2 separate regions of the Homo sapiens genome follow, and region 1 is linked to region 2. The links are contacts of gene promoters, found by promoter capture Hi-C in human tissues and cell types (Jung and others, 2019). All regions are on one chromosome and are shown on one strand. The core of a region is centred on a gene start or on the middle of the fragment in contact, and the rest is flanking DNA. Distances in the headings are between cores, read along the strand shown.

Region 1 (5,189 bases), core at 1,065-3,564, 1.1 Mb after region 2:
CATACTTAAAATCTGCATTACGTATTAGGAATTCAAAGTATTAAGTCCAGATTATGGCATTCTATCTATTTTTATATTATTCATTCATCTTACCCATAGGTGAAATAGCTCTAGCAGATTTACATAATTCCCTAATAATCTAAAGCCTTAATTATTACCTTAAAAATATTTTTATAGAAAACCAGCCCTCCTATTTTTATGATTATGGAAATTTTTTATAAAAGGAAACAGGAAACAAAAAACAAAACCATGATCCTGTTGATTCATTTACCTGTTCCGTGAATTTCGATTACAAACTGCAGACTTGAGTTCCCATATCATGACCCTGCCATCACTCACTACGAGGGCGGCTGCATTCTCATTGACAGGACAGCACACCATACTGAAGGGACGGACGGTTTTTGTCACCCTGATTGCATCACACTGGCTTCGTAAATCATAGGTAAGCTCCTGAACTGGATCTGGATCTTCACATAAAATTGTTTTAAATATCAGAAAGCAGCCATATCGATACCACTACTGTTTGTTTCAATTTAAATAAAACCTCAACTAAATTTGGGCATCACTCCTTCATGAATGCAATGTCAAGCATGGCTTCACTTTTTACAATTACTACTAAATTTTTTCCAAATATAATTTACTTAATGACTGTACTAAGTTTAATTTCCAAAATAACAACTATAATCAAGATATCTTTTTTCAATATTTTAAAATAAAGACGATACTTTGAAAAAGGATCAACAGTGATATATAATTAATGAATAAATTTCCATCATAATTTGTAGTAGTCTATAAGCCTGAAAATAACTGTACTTTCCAAAAGATGTGAAAATCACTTTGATCTTTACACAGTATATAATTTCACAAAAACATTATTTCCATTCTCCAAGATAAGACTGACTTGACAACTGAGACTTAATAACCTCTGTCACTTTACAATGGAAGTTCTTACAGCCAACAAGTCAAGGGGGTATAATAATAAAGGCACACAAGGTTGGACTTGTACTGAAAAAAAAAAAAAATTCCAAAAAATAATATCTACTTGGCTCATGGATATGATCAAGAAACACAAAATTTTACTCTCTTTGATGTATACAGGAGGTGCACTGTTTTAACATCAAGAGATTAATCTTGGGCTTATACTTTTTATGCCTCTTATTATAACCATATTTTAAACTTCCTCAAAGCAAGGAGTATCATTAACTATATACCTTGGCTGGTATTTGCCACATCAAGCTTTATAAAATAATTTTGAAGAAAAATATAACATTATTGTGAGACAGAAACTCACCTGGTTCCTCATTTGAAGTGGTAAAAATGTTATTATAAGATCTTCGAACACGTAAAGTTATACAACCATTTTCATGTAGACAAAATAAACCATCACGCTGAAAGCAGGGTATTACCTTTAAATAGATGATATATTTATTTTTTAAAACACAATAGATTAATAAAGTATATACTGTGAAACTCAAACTCATATTTAGATAATATGGGCAAAAGAAAAAAAAATAGACAAATCCCAAACTTTAAAACTAAATGTACATTTAAAATATCCATTTATAATCCTAAAATAATTTGTCTTTACCCATGTGACTTAAATAGTTCAATAAATATCTCAGGATCAGTCACAATTTCTAGGGTAAATCAAACCAATCAAAAGTGCAGACAAAAAAAACAATCTAAAATAGTGTTGCTAGTCTTTTGATAAATTGAAAAGAGAAAGTGGAGAACTGAAGACAAGACTTATGCAAGATTATGGCCTTCTTTTAATATAACATTCTTAATAATTTTGGGGAATATAATTTATGAATTGTAGATACCTGTAAAAATGGAACTCCTGTGCGTTCTATTGCAATCACACCCACCGTCTGATTCACCTCAAGGTCAAGGATTAAAATCTCTCGAGGATAGAGCAACAACATGTGATTCCTTTTTGAAGGCAGGTATGCCAACTGAAGGCAATCATTGAGAGTTATGAATTCAGCACTGAAAAAAGTAAACATTCACTTGGGTCAAAGACTTCATTTATATCAGACCTAATAAAAGATTTAATTTTGTACTTTACACATAAAAATTGACAATAAAAATGTACAACTATTCCCTGAAGTGACCAACATGGGTTGGCATCCAAAACTTAGATCTCTACTATGTACCAAAATCCAAATGCTAATAATATTGTATAGGATGGGTAGAAATGTCAGTGTTTCTAAGTTTTTGAAATATTAAGTAGTAGAATATTAAGTTATTAATATTACACAAGACATGGTAAATGATAATATAATAATAGCTGGCATGCATAAGACAGTTTTATTTTACTTTTACTTTGTCATTAAAAGTACTAGGCAAACTGTTAAAATCAAGACTCAGGATGAAAAACATCAACATTTAGGGTAATTAGGGCCCCTGGACCAGGAGTTACTGGACTATCTGTATGGCTTTGGGCAAGTAACTTCCCCTTGGCTGCCTTCATTCACTTTTAAGCTGTCTTAAATCTTTTTTGAAACAAAGTTTCACTTATATTGCAGCATTTTCTTGTGTGTAAATAAAACAGGTGAAACTATAAGGATTTTAAGAGATTGTTAGGGTCTGAAAAATCATTTTAATAATTTGTGATTGTTGCATACATTCAATGACCTTTTCTATATTAAATATATTTCAATAGGAATAGACATACAATTATGTACTATTTTCATTTTACATTTCATTTTACAAACATAATTTTATTAAAAGGCTTTGAAATTTAAAATAAAGTTAGTTCACAAGACTAGAAAGAGGAATTTTTATTGCATTAAAATCCCGACTGCCATGTCCTAGTTGGGTGAGCTTGAGTAACTTTATTTAAATTGGTGTGGGACTCAGTTTTCCTTATTTGTAAAATGGGAATATTACTACTGCCAGAATTGTAGTAAGAGTCCAGGAATTAATAGATGTGAAAGCACCCAGAGCGGTTCTACTTGAAGAAATAATGTATTTCCCCAATACTCAAGATATACATATAATTCATATGAGAGAAAACTTAAGAAATATAAAACATAACTTATAAAACTATTCAGACTGCCAAATAATTTCTTGTTTATGAGAGGGAATACATAAAAAATAGAAAGTTCTCTTAAGATACTTAAGAAGTAATCTTAAGTCATTTTGGCACAGGGTGAGAGATAAATTAACTAGTGAACTTAACCAGCCTATGGCTTAATATATAGAAGTGATACTTACACACAAGTGCAAAATGTATTTGTAGAGCAATTTATATTTTTACCACATATTTTTCAAGTAGTTACTCACCAAGCCTAGAGAGAGTAATCTTGGCATATTAAAAATAAAGGCTATCTGAAAATGAATGCCAAAACAAACAAAAAAGCCTGCCAAAGCAATAATATACAGATTATTGCTATAGGAAAAAGAAAGAAACCTATTTTGAATACATCAAATTACTTAAAATAAACTTTTATTCAGTTGTAATTTCTTAATAACAGCCGACATCTTCTAAATAAATTACTATGTATCAATGACATTACATGCTTTACTTACATTATTGGATCTATTGATCTTTAAAACAACCCTATGAAATACTTTAAAGCCTTATTTTAGAGACTGGGAGAGAGAAATTTGAGTAAGATTAAAGAAGTTTCTCAGTCTCATAGCTAAAGCTTCCCCCGGAGCCTTGGCTCTTAACCAGGATGGGAGACATCTTCACCTGCATAAGAAAAACACTCCGATTTTACTGCTGAATGAGAATGCACAGCACCTAAGTCAGGAAAATGTATTTAAAATGAGTATCCAGCTTTTGTGCCCAAATTTTTAATGCATTCAATTGCCTGAACTTTAGGATCATTGCGATTTTCACAAGTAAAAATCAGAATTCAAAAATTTTAATCTATAAAAGTCAGTGGGGAAGTTTAGCACAGCTAGTGGAAACAAAGGCAATGTTAAATGCTGAATCTCCTCTTAGGGCAGGGGACAAAAATAAATATTTTTTTCCTCTAATAAATTCAAAATTAGAAATGAGAAAAAGTGAGATGAAGAAAAACATCAGTCTTTGTACATCTCCAAAAATGATGCTTTCATACCAGATAAGTAGATGAATGTTAATTTTACACTTGTAACTTACCTAGGTTTCTCTTGAGTGATTAAAATTTTTACTTTATTTAGAGCTTTCTTGGCACCTGTGGCTGTGGCCAGCTTGTTATGAGCTGGGCTAGAGTGTGGGCTGGATATGTAAACTTTTTTCCCAGGGCCTGAGGGAGGCTTGGATGGGGAGAAGTCTGAGATGAAAACAATACCCTCGCTGGTAAGCACTATATTGAGAAAAGCAAAACTCTGATTAAAGTTTAATGAAGTTTAGCATACAGTTTTATTCCAATACAATTTTGAGAGCAATATAGTGATAATTTTAATAATATATAACTGGCAATGTTATGCATTCATAACATAATGGGAATGTTCTCTAAGTTGAAGAGAAACAGGTGGTCCATTACAATTCATCAGAGGCCTCCAAGCTTGGCATTCTATATTATGTCTTATATTAAAAAGATAACATAAGGTTATTGGCAGAAAGAACAAGTGTTTGTTCTTCTAAATAAATTCAGGGCACGGACTTTCATTAAAAATCTTTCCTTATTATCCCAGCACTTTGGGAGGCAGAGGCAGGCAGATCATGAAGTCAGGAGTTCGAGACCAGCCTGATCAACATGGTGAAACCCCGTCTCTACCAAAAATACAAAAATTAGCCAGGCGTGGTGGCACACACCTGTAATCCCAGCAACTCAGGAGAGTGAGGCAGGAGAATCGCTTGAACTGGGAGGTGGAGGTTGCAGTGAGCCGAGATAGTGCCACTGCACTCCAACCCGGGTGACAGAGCAAGATTCCATCTCAAAAAAAAAAAACAAAAACAAAAACAAAAAACAAACAAACAAAAAAACTTTAACATATCCCATAACTTAAAAAAACAAAAAACCATACTTAAGAGGCTCTGCATATCACAATTAGCTAAGTTCATATATTTTATTTGATGATACCAAATTTTTATCCTGAGCTACTCAGTCTAAATATATTCCCTTTTTCTTCTCAAGCATCAGATCGAACCTTAAGATGATTAAGGAATATTCTTTTCCCTTAATATTTAGAAAACAGTAGTGGGCCCACAGTGACTTACTAAGTGTACATGAAACAAAAATAGTCAAGGA
Region 2 (5,656 bases), core at 1,350-3,849:
GGCTTTGAGATATAAAAAAGTTTTAAATTACACTAAAGTCACAAGTCAGAGTTCCAATGTCTGTAAACAACAGTGCAGTTCCCATGATCCTGATGAAAACCTGCAGACATCTCTGTATACCGGCTGAGATGGTGCCACCATACAGCAACAGTGTGAGTGCAGTTTCTATCATTCACTCAGCTGCTCAGCTTTGAAATGATTCTTGACCAAAACATTCATTCATTAATTAGCAAAAAAGACTTATTTTTAATTTGAGATGTGAACTATTTCAAAACTTGCTCATAAAGTCAGGTTTGATTAATGTTATTTTATTTCATATTAGTTCCTATTTGCCCAGTTGAAATACACGTAAACACAACCTTGCTGAAAATCACTAGCATGTGGCGGACAGCGCAAAGAAAACAAAACATTTCCCAGGCAATGCTTAGAGCTCCTGATTATTTAAAAGCTCTGAGGGGAAAATAAATTTAAAGTAATGTTTGAAATGACAGTAAACAGGTGGATTTATAAAAATAAAAATATACAATGTTTAAGGTTCATTTATCTCCATACATAAAATAAATAAATAAAAGCCCTCTCTTTACTGAAGAAGACAGAACACACAAATGCAACTCCTTTCCTTTAAGAGACTTCATTAAAATGATAACAAAGGCATTTTTAAAAACAAGTAGGTCCAGATGAGGCGTAGTGGCTCATACCTGTAATTCCAGTACTTTGGGAGGCTGAGACAGGTGGATCACTTGAGGTCAGGAGTTTGAAACCAGCCTGGCCAATATGGCAAAATCATCTCTACTAAAAATACAAAAATTAGCTGGGCGTGGTGGCAGGTGCCTGTAATCCCAGCTACTCAGGGGGCTGAGGCAGGAGAATCGAGTGAACCTGGGAGGCAGAGGTTGCAGTGAGCCGAGAAGGCAACACTACACTCCAGCCTGGGTAACACAGCGAGTCCCTGTCTCAAAAACAAACAAACAAACAACAACAACAAAAAAACAGGTATGTCCAGACAATAATGTAATAATGTGGCAAACTGGAGAAGGCACATTAGCTGATGAGAGCTTTCTCCATGGTTGTGGGTAATGGAAAGCAGTGACGGCCTGGTAGTTGAGGAATTAGGGCAGAGGGGCATTAGACTAGAGTAGAAGGGGCTCCAGCCAAACAAGACTCTGCAGACCCTGGAGAGGGTCTGAAACACCAGGAACAATGGTGGGAACGTACTTGGGCAGAAAATTAAAAATAAGTGTCAATGGAATCTACCCTTTGCCCTGCCTGGCCCCGTGCCATAAGACAAAAACAAAATTGAAAACGAAAGCAAAACCTTTCCTATATCCTGATATTTAAAATTCTGGCAGTGTTTGGTGGCTCATACCTATAATCCCAGCACTTTGGGAGGCTGAGGCAGGAGGATCACTTGAGCCTAGGGGTTTGAGACCAGCCTGGCCAACACGGCGAGACCCCCATCTCTATAAAAAATAAAAAATATTAGCTGAATTTAGTGGCATGCACCTGTAGTTCCAACTACTTGAGAGGATTGCTCCTGGTGGGAGGATTGCGTTAGCCCGGGAGGTCGAGGCTGCAATGAACCATCATTATGCCACTGCACTCCAGCCTGGGCAGTAGAGCAAGACCCTGTCTAAAAAAAAAAATCCACAGAAGGTTGAAGGTAAATTTAATAAAATATCTCAAAAAACAGAATTAAAGAAATATTTAAAATATGAAAAAATATTAAAGGTCTGGAGAATCAAACTGTGAGGTCCCTATCTAAGTGACGGGAGATGCAGACATGACACAGAAAAGTAGAAGGAAGAAAGTGTCGAGGTGGTAACATAAAAATATTTCCCATGCTGCACATGCTGGCATGTGCTTGTGGTACCAGCTGCTTGGGAAGCTGAGGCAGGAGAATCACTTGAGCCCAGTAGTTCTGGGCTACAGTGAGCCATGATCATGCCACCGCACTCTGGCTTGGATGACAGAGTAAGAACCTATCTCTAAAAACATAAAAAAAAAAAATAAAATTAATTTAAAAAATAAAAATAAATCATAATTTTTTCCAAAGTTGAAAGACGCAAAAGGGCTCTCACTAGGTGCCTAGCACAGTAGATGAAAATACCTCATACAGTTCTGTGAGTTGGCTGGGCTCAGCCAGGCAGTTCTCACCTTGAGTGATGGTGCTCCCCAGCCACTGAACCTAAGAAGATAGGGTTTTCCTACCCTGTATTTTCAAGTAATGGGAATCAGAGCCAACTTCATTTTCCAGCCCTCTCCTCCTTACTTACCGCACTCCAGCTGTTACCAGTAGGGAATCTGATGTGTCTGCAGCAGCAACTCTATTCTTCCCTCCTCAGAGGAAAAAATTCGCCCAAGGGGCATAAGGTAGAGTAAGAAACCAAGATAACTTTTAGAGCAGGAGTGAAAGTTTTTAAAAAAGTTTTAGAGAGGAATGAAAGGAAGTAAAGTATACTTGGAAGAGGACCAAGCGGGTGACTTGAGAAATCCCAGTGCACTGTACAACCCTTAATGTGGGGTTTTATATGTTGGCACGGTTCTGGGATTTGCGTTTCTTCTCTCCTGATCCTTCCCTTGGAGCAGGCTGTCCACTTATGCAGTGGTCTGCCAGCACTTGGGAGTGGCCGCACTCACAGTGTGTTTACTGAAGTTGTGCGCGTGCTCATTTGAGGCATTTTTCCCTTGCCAGTCGAGAATTCCTAGAGGAAGGTCATATATTAGTTAAACTCTGACATTTTGCCCCTTAGGGCCCATGCTTGAGCCCACTTGCCCAACTCCTGAGATCTTATCAGGAAGCGGCTGACACTAGCTTCAGGTGTTTTCTATCTATTGGGAGCCGGCCTTTCCCTGGTGCTGGCTGCAACCAATGATGATTTTAGAGAAACAGTGTAACAACCACCTGACCATCACATGATGGTCGCCTGACATTCCTGGTTGGGGGTGGGGGTGGAATGCCCTCTGCTGCCCTTCTCATGTTCCCCTAGCTACCTACTCTAACACAGGTATGTATGCCTTTCTGAACTTTCTTGAATGTGTCAGACTTATTTTAACCCCAAAGACTTTTTTTTGCTATTGCCTTTGACTACAATATGACTTCCCTGTATTTTTGCATGACACATTACTCCTCACAATTCAAGTCACATCTCAAATGTCACCTCCTCAGGAAAGATGTTGTGCTGCTCATCACACCTAAAATAGCAACTTTCAGGTCGGGCACAGTGACTCATGCCTGTGATCCCAGCACTTTGGGAGGCCGAGGTGGGTGGATTACTTGAGGTTAGGAGTTCAAGACCAGCCTGGCGAACATGGTAAAACCCCCTCTCTACTAAAAAGACAAAAATTAGCCGGGCGTGGTGGCAGGTGCCTGCTATCCCAGCTATTTAGGAGGCTAAGGCAGGAGAACTGCCTGAACCCAGAGGTGGAGGTTGCAGTGAGCCAAGATCGCACCACTGCACTCCAGCCTGGGTGACAGAGTGAGACTCTATCTGGAGGGAAAGAAAAAATGCAACTTCTATTCTCCACCTATCCCTTTAGCCTATTTAAATTCTTCATAGCACTTACAATGACCAAATCCTTTTTTTTTCTTTTCTTTATTATCTGTCTCCTCCATGAGAGTAGGGACTTTGTCTTATTCATCATTATACAGATGGTTCTGGAGCCACCCAACAAGTTCTTCTTCCCCACTGCACAGACAAAAATCAATTCACTGAGACCATGGCATTGCAATAGAGAAAGAGTTTAACTGCCGCGAGGCTGAGCCCACGTGGGAGAACTGGAGTTATCCCTCAGATCAGTCTCCCTGTAGGCTCGGAACAAGGGTTTTTATGGACAATTTGGTTGTCAGGGGGTAGGGGGATAGTGCCGCTGATTGGTTGGGGATGAAATCATACCGGTGTGGAAAGCAGTCCTCATGCACTGAGTCTGCCTCTGGGTGGGGCCCCAGGACCTGTTGAGTCATGAGTCATGAGTCTGAGTGAGGTCAGTCTGAAAAACATCTTAAAAAACTCAATCTTGGCTGGGCGCGGTGGCTCACGCCTGTAATCCCAGCACTTTGGGAGGCCCAGGTGGGTGGATCACAAGATCAGGAGTTCGAGACCAGCCTGGCCAAGATGGTGAAACCCCGTCTCTACTAAAAATACAAAAACAAACAAACAAACAAACACCCCAATCTTAAGTTCTACAATAGTGATGTTACTTACAGGAGCAATTGGGAAAGTCACAGATCTTGTGAACTCTGGCCACATGACCCCTGGGCATTAAGGGACTATAGAAACTATGCCTACATTTTAGCAGAGTTCTGCCTTCTCCCATTATCCTATTCCTGTGGCCTTTCATTAGTCTTACAAAGGCGATTTTGGTCCCTGAGAAAGGAGGGGGTTAGTTTTAGGGAGGGACTATTATAATCTTTACTTTCAAATTAAACTATAAATTGAATTCCTCCCAAAGTTAGCTTGGCCTATGCCCAGGAATAACCAAGGACAGCTTGGAGGTCAGAAGCAAGATGAAGTCAACCATGTCACATTTCTGTTACTGTCAGTTCTGCAAAGGCAGTTTCCTTCCCTAACATAACAATAATTTGATGTAGATTTATCATAAGATGGCTCAAAAGAGAGAATGCATTCAGCAGAAACTGTACTTTGAGTATTCAAACAACTATTCTGTTTTTCAAATTCAGTACAGTATTCAATAAATTCTATGAGATTCAACACTTTGTCACAAACTAGGCTTTGTGTTAGGTGATTTTGCCCAACTGTAGGCTAATGCAAGTGTTCTCAGCACGTTTTAGGTAGGCTAGGCTATGCTACTTTAACAGCTACATTGTCTAGAGTATTTATGCTGGGGTTCCTTGTCTCACAATGAGAAAGAATTCAGGACACAGACACACGTGGGTGGGTTAAGAAGTAGAAAACTTAATAGAAGAAAGGAGAGAGAGAGAAGTCCAAAACGGGAGGCGGCGGACCGCAGCAGATTTTATAGGCAGGCTGGAAAAGGTGGTGTCTGATTTACGCAGACCTCATAGATTGGTACCATCAGGTATGACATTTACATAGCCCGCGAGGAAGACTGGCTGCCCCACCCTAATCTTATTATGTAAATGGACTCTCCAGTTGATCAGCACTATCTTGACTGCTCTTTAATACATTGTATGGTGGTCGACAAAGAGAAAGGAAGACAGAGCCACCATCTTGAACACATATAGTCCCTAGCTCCTGCCGGCATTCACCTGTGCAAGCTCCCAGCTTGCTTGTTTATATCTGCAGCTCAACTTTATAGGCTGCTCTTTGTTAAAAAACAATTTGGGGCTGCTTTTCATTAAGGATAAAAGCCTTACCAAGGACTTCCGTACCCTCACTATCTGCCCAAGTAATTTCTTCTTAACTCCCATATCCCTATGTTCAGTAGGTTAGGTGTGTTAAATGCATTTTCAACTTACAATACTTTTAACTTATGAAGAATTTACAGGGAGCACCTGTATCATTAGTGCCTAGAACATACTTGGAATGTTTGTTGAGTGAATGCTGGATCAGAATCTTGGCTGGGCATGATGGTTCATGCCTGGAATCCCAGCACTTTGGGAGGCCGCGGCGGGCAGATCACCTGAGGTCAGGAGTTTGAGACCAGCCTGGCCAACATGATGAAACCCCATCTCTAC

The links. The method cuts DNA at HindIII sites, captures the fragments that hold promoters and counts their contacts. A contact is called where the count stands out against the background at its distance.
Region 1: a fragment that was not itself captured here is called in contact with the fragment with the promoter of TACC2 in region 2 in 1 of the 25 tissues and cell types used here (dorsolateral prefrontal cortex).

Annotation. Positions count from the first base shown.
Region 1 is chr10:120,861,847-120,867,035 of GRCh38, reverse strand. WDR11 (WD repeat domain 11) reads right to left here. Exons shown (of 29, transcript NM_018117.12): 5 at 4,115-4,301; 6 at 1,824-1,989; 7 at 1,292-1,406; 8 at 272-467. Among named protein-coding and RNA genes, the nearest start is that of WDR11, 13 kb to the right of the region's middle. The HindIII fragment of the contact is 3,529 bases long and covers 550-4,078 here.
Region 2 is chr10:121,986,106-121,991,761 of GRCh38, reverse strand. TACC2 (transforming acidic coiled-coil containing protein 2) reads right to left here and starts at 2,599. Exons shown (of 23, transcript NM_206862.4): 1 at 2,274-2,599. The HindIII fragment of the contact is 30,860 bases long and covers 1-5,656 here.